2 separate regions of the Homo sapiens genome follow, and region 1 is linked to region 2. The links are contacts of gene promoters, found by promoter capture Hi-C in blood cells and fetal thymus (Javierre and others, 2016). All regions are on one chromosome and are shown on one strand. The core of a region is centred on a gene start or on the middle of the fragment in contact, and the rest is flanking DNA. Distances in the headings are between cores, read along the strand shown. Region 1 has its middle 61 kb from the start of APOL3. Region 2 holds the start of RASD2 (RASD family member 2).

Region 1 (6,017 bases), core at 1,001-3,500, 560 kb before region 2:
AAATATTTCTTTTCTGTCATTGCTAGGGACTGGAAATGAAAGTAGTAGTAAAAGCATGTGCTCAGCCAACCATGTCCATCCAACCCCCAAGAAAGATAACTTAAAGAAGTGTTGCTGAGTGTTACAAATTTAACCCCCATCACAACTGCCCACCCTGACATTCTAGCAAGAACCCACAGGAAAGATCTGGATGTGAGGTTTGTATTTTCTTAGAATGTGTCGATGAGATGCATTGTAGCAGGTCATATTTACCAATAATGGCTACCACAATATCTACCATTTAATCTATGTCTTCTTCTCTGCTTGAGCCAGGGAAGTTATTCATGACTGCCTCATGGCAGAAGAAAAACTGTGACTTCTGAGGTTTCTGACTTCTGGGTTATAAAAATGCCATGTATTTCCACCTTGCTCTCTTGGGACACTCACAGAGCCACCATGCTCCGAAGAAGCCCAAATTCACCCATGTGAAGAGATATATGGAGAGGCCATATGCAGCCCAGATGACCTCCCAGCTGAGAGGCGATGTTGGCCAGGCGCAGTGGCTCATGTCTGTAATCCCGGTACTTTGGGAGGTTGAGATGGGCGGATCACCTGAGGTCAGGAGTTCGAGACCAGCCTGGCCAACATGGGAAACCCCGTCTCTACCAAAAACACAAAAATTAGCTGGGCATGGTGGCACATGCCTATAATCCCAGCTACTCAGGATTCTAGTTCTTTAGGGACAGGTGACATGGCATAGTGAAAATAGAGATGGAAATCTAGTTCTGACATCAGAAAGATCTGAGTTCTAATCCCACCTCTACCACTTACTAGCTGTATGATCTTGGGCAAGTTGGTTCATCAACAGAATTGTTGAGAAGATTAAATGGGATAATGTGTGTTACCCCATCCCTCCAAAAAGCACAGATTACCAACAATCATAGGCAGTCAACAAATATTTATTCAACATGGTTGTGACCATCTAGTGCTGTTTTAAACTCCACCCTAAAACTCAGTGGCTTGAAATAATAATAGCCATTTATTTTATTTCTGAAATTACAATTTTGTCAGGGCTCCACGGGGCAGCACATCTCTGCTCTGTGCAGTGTCAGCTGGGGTGGCCTAACTGGGACCGGAATACCCACTTTTAGGATGGTTTACTCACATGACTGGTGAGTTGAGGTACGCTGTTGGCTGGGACTATCTACTAGGCACCTCAGTTCCTCTCCATGTGGACTTCTCCTCAAAGATACTTGAGTTTCCTTCTGGCAAGGAAGCTTAGTTTCAAGATTGAATGTTCCAAGAAACCAAAAATGGAAACAGATGGTCTCTTAAGACTTGAACCTTGAAACCAATACAGCATCACTTATGCTGTATTCCAGTAACCAAAGCAGTCACAAGGCCCATCCGTATTAGTTCATTCTGACACTGCTAATAAAGACATACTTGGCCCCGGATGGTGGCTCACACCTATAATCCCTGCACTTTGGGAGGGCAAAGTGGATGGATCACCTGAGGTCAGGAGTTCCAGACCAGCCTGGCCAACATGGTGAAACCCCATCTCTACTAAAAATACAAAAAAGTAGCCAGGCATGGTGGTGGGTGCCTGTAATCCCAGCTACTCGGGAGGCTGAGGCAGGAGGATCTCTTGAACCCAGCAGGCGGAGGTTGCAGTGAGCCAAGATCATGCCACTGTACTCCAGACTGGGAGACAGAGCGAGACTCTGTCTCAAAAAAAAAAAAAAAAAAAAAGACATACTCAAGACTGGGTAATTTATAAAGAAAAAGAAGTTTAGGCTGGGCACGGTGGCTCACGACTGTAATCCCAGCACTTTGGGAGGTCAAGGCAGGCGGATCACAAGGTCAGGAGATCAAGACCATCCTGGCTAACACGGTGAAACACTGTCTCTAAAAAATTAGCTGGGTGTGGTGGCACACACCTGTAGTCCCAGCCACTTGGGAGGCTGAGGCAGGAGAATTGCTTGAACCTGGGAGGCAGAGGTTGCAGTGAGCTGAGATCACTCCACTGCACTCCAGCCTCGGCGACAGAGCGAGATTCCATCTCAAAAAAAAAAAAAAAGAGGTTTAATGGCCTCACAGTTCCACATAGCTGCAGAGGCCTCACAATCATGGCAGAAGGCGAAGGAGGAGCAAAGGCACATCTTACATGGCAGCAGGCAAGACAGCATGTGCAGCAGGGGAACTGCCCTTTATAAAACCACCAGATCTCATGAGACTTATTCACTGTCATGAGAACAGCATGAGAAAAACCCACCCCCATGATTCAATTACCTCCCACTGGGTCCTTCCCACAAGGGGATTATGGGAACCACAATTCAAGATGAGATTTGGAGGGGACACAGCCAAACCAGATCACCATCCAATCTAAAGGGAAGGAAAATAGACCCTACCTCTCAAAAGAAAGAGTGTAAAATAATTTGTGTTCCTGTTTAATAACCCACAGACATCTTCTAGGTATCAGATATTCTTGTAGACTCTGCAGTATAATGTGGTCCAAGGCCGATATGGTGCCCTCTCGCATGGAACTTATATCCATACTATTATTTGTCTTGTTAATGCATGCATCTCGTGCCGCCAAGTAGACTGAAAATACCTTCCAGAGCAAGCCTTTTTCTTATTTATCTTTCTATCCTTGACATTCGACACAGTGACTGGCATGTAGTTAATGGACAGGAAAGGTTGCTGAATTAAATTACACTCTGTGGAATAAAATCATGAGAAAGCACTTTATAAATTGCAAAGCACAATTCAAACATAAGATCTGTAGTTATTCATCGGAACTTTTAATGATTTTTTTTGTACCAGCCACTATCCTAGACCCTGTTAATACAGAGATAATAAGACAGAGGTCCTGCCTTCAAGCCACGTTTGCATTACCCATTTCCTTGAAAGGAAATTAAGTCAATGACAGCTAAGTGGTTTAATGTATTAAAAATGTACAGCTGGACGTGCCCAGCCTGCTAAGGCAGAGTTCTAGAGTGCCTGCTGGAACATTGAAGTCACACCCTCCATACACAATAGACAGCCCTTCAACAAATGATAGGAGACTTACTGGCTTGTAGCATTTAAGGAAATCTATGTAATCATTAGCTGACCACGTCTAGTAGCTAGGTTAACTACCTAGCAGAAACTTCAGGGGCCGTATATCACAAAGAATACAGATCTTACAGAATTCGTCCCGGGAAGCCACTAAACAAACAGCAACAACAACAACAGACAGCAATCACAATAACAACAAAGCTTAGGAAGGGGGCAATCTGGTTTCCAGTGTTGTCCCATTATATTATATTAAATGTCCCGTTTCCAACAAAAATGCATGAACAAATAAGAAAGTATAGCTCATACCTGGAAGGACAAGAGGCTTCCTGAAGAAGCCCAGATGTTAGAGTCACTGTCAGTTTTAAATCAGATATTATAAAAACATTCAAAGAACTAAAGAAAACAAGGGGCCGGGCGTGGTGGCTCATGCCTGTGATCCCGGCACTTTGGGAGGCCGAGGCAGGCAGATCACCTGAGGTCGGGAGTTCGAGACCAGTATGATCTACATGGAGAAATCTCTCTCTACTAAAAATACAAAAATTAGCCGGGTGTGGTAGCGCATGCCTGTAATCCCAGCTACTTGAGAGGCTGAGACAGGAGAATCGCTTGAACCCAGGAGGTGGAGTTGGCAGTGAGCTGAGATCATACGACTGAACTCCAGCCTGGGAGACAGAGCAAGACTCCGTCTCAAAAAAAAGAAATATTAAAGGAAGTCCTTGGTGCTGAAATAAAAGGACTCAAAACAGAAACACAAGACACAATTCACTTGAAGAAACTAAGAAAACTAGTACAAGTAACTACATAGGTAAATACAGAAGAAAGACAGTACATAGGTCTTTTGTTTGTAATTCTTTTCTCCTATTATCTGACTTAAAAGACATTTTCCTAAAACAATAATTATAAAACTGTATTGATAGTCTTACAATACATAAAAATGTAATTTGTATAATACCAACACAAAGGAAGAGATAAAAAACAACCACAGTGGAACAAACATTTATATATACTATTAAAATTAAGTTAGTACTTATCTCAACTAGATAGCTTTACATTAAGATGTTAATTATAATCCTCGAAGCAACCATTAAAAAGTGATCTTGGCTGGCACAATGGCTCACACCTGTAATCCCAGCACTTTGGGAAACTAAGACAGGCAGATCACTTGAGCCAGGAATTCCAGACCAGCCTGGGCAACATGGCAAAACCCTGTTGTTACAAAAAAATACAAAAAATTAGCCAGGTTTGATGGTGCACAGCTGTGGTCCCAGCTAGTCTGGAGGCTGAGGTGGGAGGATTGCTTGAGCCCAGGAGGTTGCAGTAAGCCGGAGATCATGCCACTGCACTCCAGCCTGGGTGACATAGTGAGATCCTATCTCAAAAAAAAAAAAAAAAAAAAAAAAGGCAGGCTGGGCACAGAGGCTCATGTCTATAATCCCAGCACTTTGGGAGGCTGAGGCAGGAGGATCACCTGAGGTCAGCAGTTCAAGACCAGCCTGGCCAACATGGAGAAATCCCGTCTCTACTAAAAATACAAAATTAGCCGGGCGTGGTGGTGGGCGCGTGTGGGCCCAGCTACTCCAGAGGCTGAGGCAGGAGAATCACTTGAACCTGGAAGGCGGAGTTTGCAGTGAGCCGAGATGATGCCACTGCACTCTGGCCTGGGTGACAGAGCAAGACTCGGTCTTAAAAAAAAAGAAAAGAATGAAAAGAAAATAAAAAGGATACATATATTATATTTGAGATGGAGTTTCACTCTTGTTGCCCAGGATGGAGTGCAATGGTGCGATCTCAGCTCACCGCAACCTCCGCCTCCCGGGTTCAAGTGATTCTCCTGCCTCAGCCCCCAGAGTAGCTAGGATTACAGACATGCGTCACCACACCCGGCTAATTTTGTATTTTTAGTAGAGACGGAGTTTCTCCACGTTGGTCAGGCTGGTCTTGACCTCCCGACCTCAGGTGATCCGCCCACCTCGGTCTCTCAAAATGCTGGGATTACAGGAGTGAGCTACCACGCCCGGTGAAAAGGATCTTAAATATTGCGTGCACGCACACACACACACACCCACACACACACACAAAGGGAATTAAAAATAGTATGCTAGTAAATGGACAATAAACACATGGAAAGGTGCTCCACGTCATTAGTCACTAGGGAAATGTACATCCAAACTGAAATGAGGTAATACTTCACACCCATTAGAAAAAAAAAAAAGACAATATTGGCAAGGATGTGGAGACATTGTAATCTTCTTACATTGTTGGTGTGAATGCAAAATGATACATCCATTTTAGAAAGGAGTTTGGCAGTTCCTCCAAATGTTGAATAGAGTTACCATATGACTTAGCCATTTCATGCCCAGGTATAAACTAGTGAGAAATCAAACCATATATCCACACAAAAACTTGAACTTGAATTTTGAAAGCACCATTATTTGTAATAGCCAAAGAAGTGGAAACAACCCAAATGCCCGCCAATTGATAAATGGATAATCAAAATGTTTATATCTATACAATAGAATATTATTCAACCTACAAAAGGAATGAAATTCTGATACATGATATATTATCACGGATGAACCCTGAAGGCATCATGCTAAGTGAAAGAAACAGATAGAAAAGGAAACATACACAATATTTGTTGTATGATTCTACTTACATGCGGTATACTGGAATAGCCAAATACCTAGAGACAGAAAGCAGAGTAGTGGGCTGGGTGCAGTGGCTGCCGAGGCAGGTGGAAAGCCTGTAATCCAAGGACTTTGGGAGTTCGAGGCAGGTGGAGGGCTTGAGGTCAGGAATTCGAGACCCACCTGATCAACATGGTGAAACCCTGTCTCTACTAAAAACACAAAAATTAGCCGGCGTGGGGGCAGGTGCCTATAATCCCAGCTACTCAGGAGGCTGAGACAGGAGAGTTGCTTGAACCTGGGAGGTGGAGGTTGTAGTGAGCTGAGATCACGCCACTGCACTCCAGCCTG
Region 2 (6,436 bases), core at 3,257-5,756:
CCTCGCCCATTGACCCAAGGCGCTTTCCAACACCATCGCTTCCTGGCTATCATGAAGCTAAGGTCTGAGATGGCCACTGGAGGTGGAGAGATTGCCTGCGTGCGAGTCCCTGGCACACATCTGGATCTGCTCACCCTGCCCAACTACCAGCCTCTGTGCAGGAAACCGGCTCTCAAAAATACCTTTGTTAAAAGCCCTATTGCCAATTTCCATGGCGTAAATGCTCCCACTACGGTCACTTCTAAGCTACTAATGTGACTTCGATGAATGAATCACAAAGGGACGTGCACAATAAGCCAGCTCAGCACACGGCGGACCCCAGGCCTGGAGCCACAAGGACGACAACTGCTGCCACTTGAGCCCATGCAGTGTGCCAAGCCCCGCACTAAGTATAGAAATAATCATAGCTGGCATTCATTTTGCAGCTAAAATATGCCAGAGTGTTCTAAGTGCTGCACACATGTTAACCTATTTCTCCCTTCATAACCCCAGAAAGCAGGTGGTGTTATTCTCCAATTTACAGATGAGGAAACTGAGGCACAGAGAGGTTAAATTACTTGCTTACAGTTGCACAGCCAGTAACCAGCAGAGGAGAGGTTTGATCCCAGGTGGTCTGCCCCGAGCTCAGAAGGCTACGTGACTAGCTACTTGGTTAACAAAGGAGGCTGGGTAGTAGTTCAAGCCTAAGACCCCCACATCCCCCACCCAGCTCCCACCTAAAGCTGTCTTTGAATTTATCCCACAAAACTGCCATGCCATGAACAGAGCAGGGGCTCAATAAAGGGTCTGTGCATTCATCAAATGGCAAAGGGCTCTGTCTTTGGGTTTGCCTGAAGCCCCACTCTGGGACCTTCTCTCCTCAGCCTCAACCACCTGACTGGCCCAGGGGCTGTGCCAAGGAGGGCCCTCCCCTAGGGCAGCCCTGATGAGGTGCCCAGGGCATACGTGTGGGAGGCAGGAAATGAGAGAGAGGAGGGTGGAGAGGGGGCTGCCAGACCACAGCAGGGAGCCCTTCTCAGTCTCTGCCGGGGCTGTCTCAGCCAGCCTGGGCCTTCAGCAGAGATGGGGGGAAAGAAGCCCTACCCCATGACAGCCCCCTCCCCAAGTCCTTCTGCAGACAGCTTGACTCTGCTGGCGGTCACTTCTGTCTAAACAGGATGGGAAAGGGGCCAGAAGCTCCCAGGGACAGTATTTGTCTCCATCATTGCCCTGCCCAGCCTCCAGCCTAGAGCTTGGTACAGACGAGTTGATAGCAATGACTGAATGAGCTTCAGGGAGTCAGAGAGAGGAGGCAGGGAGTCAAAGACGCAGAGAATCGGAGAGAGGAGGCAGGGAGTCAAAGAGAGGAGGCAGAGGGTCAAAGAGGCAGGGAATCAGAGAGAGGAGGCAGGGAGTCAGAGAGAGGAGGCAGAGAGTCAGAGAGAGGAGGCAGTGAGACAGAGAGGGGAGGCAGGGAGTCAGACAGAGGAGGCAGGGAGACAGAGAGAGGAGGCAGGGAGTCAGAGAGGAGGCAAAGAGTCAGAGAGAGGAGGCAAGGTGACAGATAGAGGAGGCAAGGAGTCAGAAATAAGAGACAGGGAATCAGGGTGGGGAAAAAGAGAAAAAAAATCCTCTGTGGTTTTTATCTCTGAGAGAAGACTGATTCTTCACATGGCCTGAGCCACGTGGGGCTGTGTGAGACATCTGGACACCTGGACGCCAGGGGACAGTGCCTCTGTGGGCTCCGCCTCCTGCCTCCACATCTTTCTTCCCTCTCTTCCCCCAGAGGTGGCACCATGGGCACCCTCGTAGGCACATCTCTCCTCTGCAGCCTGTTCTCCCTTCTCCATCCTCAGCCAGGCTGACCTCATACAGCGAGGAGCAGACAGGGATGAGTTTGAAGAGCCCTTTGGGAATTTAGAGTCCAATATCAGTGACTGAATGGATTTCAGGAAGTCAGAGAGAGGAGGCAGGGAATCAGAGAGGGGAAGTAAGGAATCAGAGAGAGGAGGCTCAGAGAGGCAGGAAATTCAACGGAGACCCCCTAGCGGCACAGGTATCTGAATGCACATACTGTGACTACTGACCCCATCACAGGGCCATTCTGAGGACAGGTGGAAGCCAGAAAGTTCCCAGAGCAGAGATGAGGGGACGCCATCCTGGGGGCACAGTAACCACAGCCAGGAAGGCATCCATCAGCCCACTTGACTGATGGGGACACTGATGCTCAGAGAGGTTAAGTCACTTGCCCCAGTTCACACAGCAGATGACTAGCTGGGCTGGGATCAGAACCAGGCTGTTTGGCTTCAAAGTCTGGGCTCTTAACTCTATGAAAACCCACCCCCAGCCAAAACTGGTCTTTTCCAAAACACTGTCTGTCTCAGTGAAGCCTCAGCTGGCATCAGGCGGGGGGATGACGCCGAGACATACTATATTCTCACTCCCTCTCTCCCTGCAGGCAGCGGAGCGGAAAGGGGGCAGGCACCTCCCAGGATTCTCCCCTAACCCTGCCAGCCACCTCTGAGCAAGTGCACCTGTGGATTCACCACTTCTCCCTTGAGCCTCTCTCCCAGGGCCTGCCTGAAAGATGAAGGGGTCACACGGGCACAGGCAGCAGGACAAGAGTCTGGACGTGTCCTCCCGGTGTATGCCCCAGAGCCTGTTTCACTGCACTGCCCCTCCTCCACACCCCCATGCCTCCTCCATCAGTGCACACTCAGCCTCTTTGGACACGCACATTGCCATCACTGGCTTCCAGCTGCCACTCTGAGAGTCCGGGAGCTTGGCAAAGCCAACCCCACCACCCTTGGCAGCTCAGGTGGTAGAAGGTAGGCAGGCATCCACTTCTGGCAGGCCAACTCTGCCTCTCACCAGCCCGGCAGCCCTGGGCAAATGACTTGGCTTCCTGGGGCTCAGGTTATTCCTCTGTTAATGGTAAGACATAAACCCCCTGTGTGGCCCTGGGTTTCCAATAAGTCTGGAGGCTGACCCAGCTCTTGACCCGCAGCAAACCTGAACACATGCTGGGTTCTTTTCTTCGTGGCACTTTATCTTGGCAGTCGTGGGGCTGCCTAGAGCAGCCTGGTGAGGCTGGACTGGAATGCAGGCGCAGGTCTTGCAGGGACCCCATCTTGTCTCTGACACCACAGGAGGCTTGATTCACTGGCTCCTGACCTGGCTGCTCCCTCCCAGCCTGGCTTCCCACCTTCCATGAGGTCTTGGACAACATCCCCTGTCATCCTCCTGGTGCTGGGGACAAGGGGAGGGGAGGGCACAGAGAGGCCTCCAGAGCTGCCTTCCGGGCCCTCCAAGACAGCTAAGTTACAGGAAACCCCTCCTGGGAAGGGAATCATCCAGGAAACTCACTCTGCACCAACCCAGAAAAAGCTCAAGAACTCTGGATAACGAAGGAGCTTCTTAATCTTCCTTCCCCACCTCCAGGTAATGCAGGCTGCAGCCAGCTCCAGAAGAGGGACAGGAGTGTTTGTGGTAGTTGACTCGTCTTCCCTGAGCCCCCGTTTCCTCCTATTTAAATGGGCTATTACTCTAGCTCTTTAAATGCAAAGCCTGTGGCACCAAAACTAGCACATAGTAGAAGCTCAATAAATCTTTCTTTCCTGGGATTAAGTCAAGGGTATAGCACTCAGTTTGACACATACAGTAGGTGCTCAACGAATTTAATTCTCTCTAGGTATGCAAAGTTGCCAGACGATCCCGGCACATAGTAGGTGCTCAATCAATTTCACTTTCTCTGGTCATCTAAGGAATCACTGAGCTTTCCTCCTCCAAGCCTCTACCCTTTCTTCCCGGCTGCTCCACTTCCCCCAGATGCCCAGCTCTGTTGGGGCGTCTCCTACCTGGGAATGGCGGGCCGGGCCTCTGGCACGGCTCAGAGAGCTGCCTGGAAGCGCCGGGAGCTGCGGGGAGCTGCCTGCTGCTCCAGCCGCCGAGCCTCCCAGAGTCTGTGGTGGCTCCCGGGTCACTGCGCGGGGATCCTCCCCTGCGCTGCTCGGGACGCCGGGCTGGGCGCGGCCGGGCAAGGAGGCGCAAGGGGCAGGTGCCCCATGGGTGGGCTCCGAGGGCTCGGCGGGGCCCGGGCAGGGGGCGGGCTCCGGCTCGCCGCCGCCGGCCCTGCCCTGCCCCGAGCCGGGGGCCTCCTGCTGAGCCAGGTGCCCGGAGGCTTGGGGACGTCCGATCCGGGGGTCCCCGCCTGGGGCTCTCGGGCTGGGGGCAGAGAGGTAGGGGCGACTCCAGTGATGAAGGAGCAGCTCCTAGAGACTTGGGGAGGGGGGGTCCTTTGGAGGTGACTGTGGGTGCGTGTCCCAGGTGGGCGAACCCTCCTGGTCGCCTATGCCACCTTCTCCGCCTGCCCCAAAGGGGGTCGCTCGGATGGGGGGTATCGGGCTGCCGGGCTCGGCCGCGGCCTCCTTCTCTGCCCGCGGCTCTGCAGCTCTCCCAGCGCCGGAGGGACGGCTTCTTTCTCCCCGCGCGGCGACGCCAGCAGCTGAAGGAGGAGCAGGGCGCTCTGCTCTGCGCGCGTGTGGGAGGGGGCCTTGAACGCCGCCCCAAGGTTTCGCAGCTCCAAGTTAGCATCAACCCGGCTCCTCCTCCTTCACCTCCTCCTGTCCCCAGATGAGGAGAACTTTGTGTGTGGCCCTGGGTTCTCCCTCCTTCCCCCTCTCGCAGGCAGATGCCCCACTGTCACCCGCAGGGCGAAGAGGTCGCTGATCCCTCCGAAAGGTGGCAGAACCCCAGGCTCCTGATGACGGTCCCAGCGGCACCCTCCCGCGCCCCTGCGAGCGTCGCCCACCTGCTCCTTCGGCCCCCCGCGAGCCGCGCCTCCCGCCGCCCAGCGCCAGCGTCTGCCCCCCAGAGCCCGCTCGCCCCGCCCCACCCCGGCGCCCCGCCTCGCCCCGGCGCCCGGCCAATGGGAGGCGGGTCCCGCGGCCCGGCCCCGCCCATCCCTTTCGCGGCCTCCGGGGCGCCGCGGTCTGCGGTTCCGCGTGTCCGGGCGCGTGGGGCCGGGGCCGCTGGGCGCGCGCACCTTGCCCAGAAGGCGGCCCGGGCCTCGGAGGCTGACGTCTGCGCACGCGCTCACACGCACGCCCGGCCTGGCCGCAGGTGACCCGCATGGGGTCCGGCCGCCTGCCCACTCGGCCGGGGTCTCCAGCGGCTTGCGCCCGGCCAGGTCGAGCGCGCCACGGTTCCAGCGCCCTCCTCCTTCGCGGAAGTCCCCGGGTGCCCTCCCAGGTGTCCAACCTGCCTGTCCCAGCCGCCGCCTCCCTCCCGAGCTCACGGTGCCCACGGGACCCTGCGGACTGGCACATGGGCCATGCACGTGTCGCCCAGAGGGGCGGGGAGTCACCTAGGCTTAGTAGCCAGAGGTCTTCGAGGCATGCGAGTCTCAGAGACCACGGCCGACGGGGACACACCAGGTGCCTTGAGCATTGCGTCTCCTGCCTGCATTCTCCCTCCCCACCTTTAAATGAGGGGCTTGACCTAGGCCAGACATCGGGCCTTCTCACTGGGCCATATCTCCACACCACTTATTACTTAATATATTTTTTAAAATATCAGATCCACTTTCCCCACCCCTTAAACACGTTTTTTTAGAGAATCATTATATCACTGCCTTAAATGGGAAATCAGTATCACTTGCCATAAATAGAAAGTAAGAGTTAAAATAAGCACAGTGAAAACAAAGCAAGGTTATTAAATTCCAGCTGGAAACCGTGGCCTGCCAAGGCTTGAGATGTGTGCCCTCAGTGAAAAAGGGAGATTGGCAAGGTTTGGAGAGGTGTTAAATACCCATTAGCACCTAACAGAGACTTTCTCCTTCACATATCAGGAGGCTTAAAAGAGAATGTTCTCGTTGTGTGATACAGCAAAGGGATGGGATGCTGTGTCTGTGTCCCTCAGTTCCAGATCCCTGGACCTCAGGGATGTCTGCCAGCCTCACCCCCAACCCAGATCTGGCCTCCCTACCTCATGAGAGGACGCAGGGGTCTGGGAGGGCACCTGAGGGGTCAGCTCCATTGGCTGAGAGACTGGCGTTCAAGTCCTGTCTCCGTAACTACCTAGATATCTGACCCTGGGCCGTCATGAAAAGTCTCTGGGTCCTGGTTGTGCCATCTCTAAAATGGGTATGATATTGATGGGTCCACAGAATGACAGAAGTACTAAAATGGCCTGGGACTTTGAATATGGAAAGTGACTTGCTTTGCTTGTCTCTGTAACATCTTGAGATTCTCCAGGAAAGTTAACCAGAGAGGATGGGGCAGGTGGGGGTGGAGGGTGCAGTACCTGTACTACCTGATTGTGTTTAATGCCCCAATTTAGGCCACAGAGGGGCTAAGGGGATGTGCCCAAAGTCACCTGGTGGCAAGTGGCAGGATTGCAGCCTGGTGCATTTTCCACATCCAGACTTTGCCTCTGGGAACTGGCTTCAGCCCGGGAG

What was found. The method cuts DNA at HindIII sites, captures the fragments that hold promoters and counts their contacts. A CHiCAGO score of 5 or more calls a contact.
Region 1: a contact is called between a fragment that was not itself captured here and the fragment with the promoter of RASD2 in region 2, in 7 of 17 cell types (M2 macrophages, naive CD4 T cells, M1 macrophages and 4 more). The highest score is 7.4, in M2 macrophages.

The regions. Positions count from the first base shown.
Region 1 is chr22:36,097,245-36,103,261 of GRCh38, reverse strand. No RefSeq gene overlaps it. Among named protein-coding and RNA genes, the nearest start is that of APOL3, 61 kb to the left of the region's middle. The HindIII fragment of the contact is 1,984 bases long and covers 1,259-3,242 here.
Region 2 is chr22:35,538,901-35,545,336 of GRCh38, reverse strand. It overlaps RASD2 (RASD family member 2), which reads right to left and starts at 4,506. Exons shown (of 3, transcript NM_014310.4): 1 at 3,837-4,506. RefSeq lists enhancers at 4,156-4,718, 4,719-5,281, 5,282-5,844 and a silencer at 4,815-5,034. The HindIII fragment of the contact is 7,504 bases long and covers 1-6,436 here.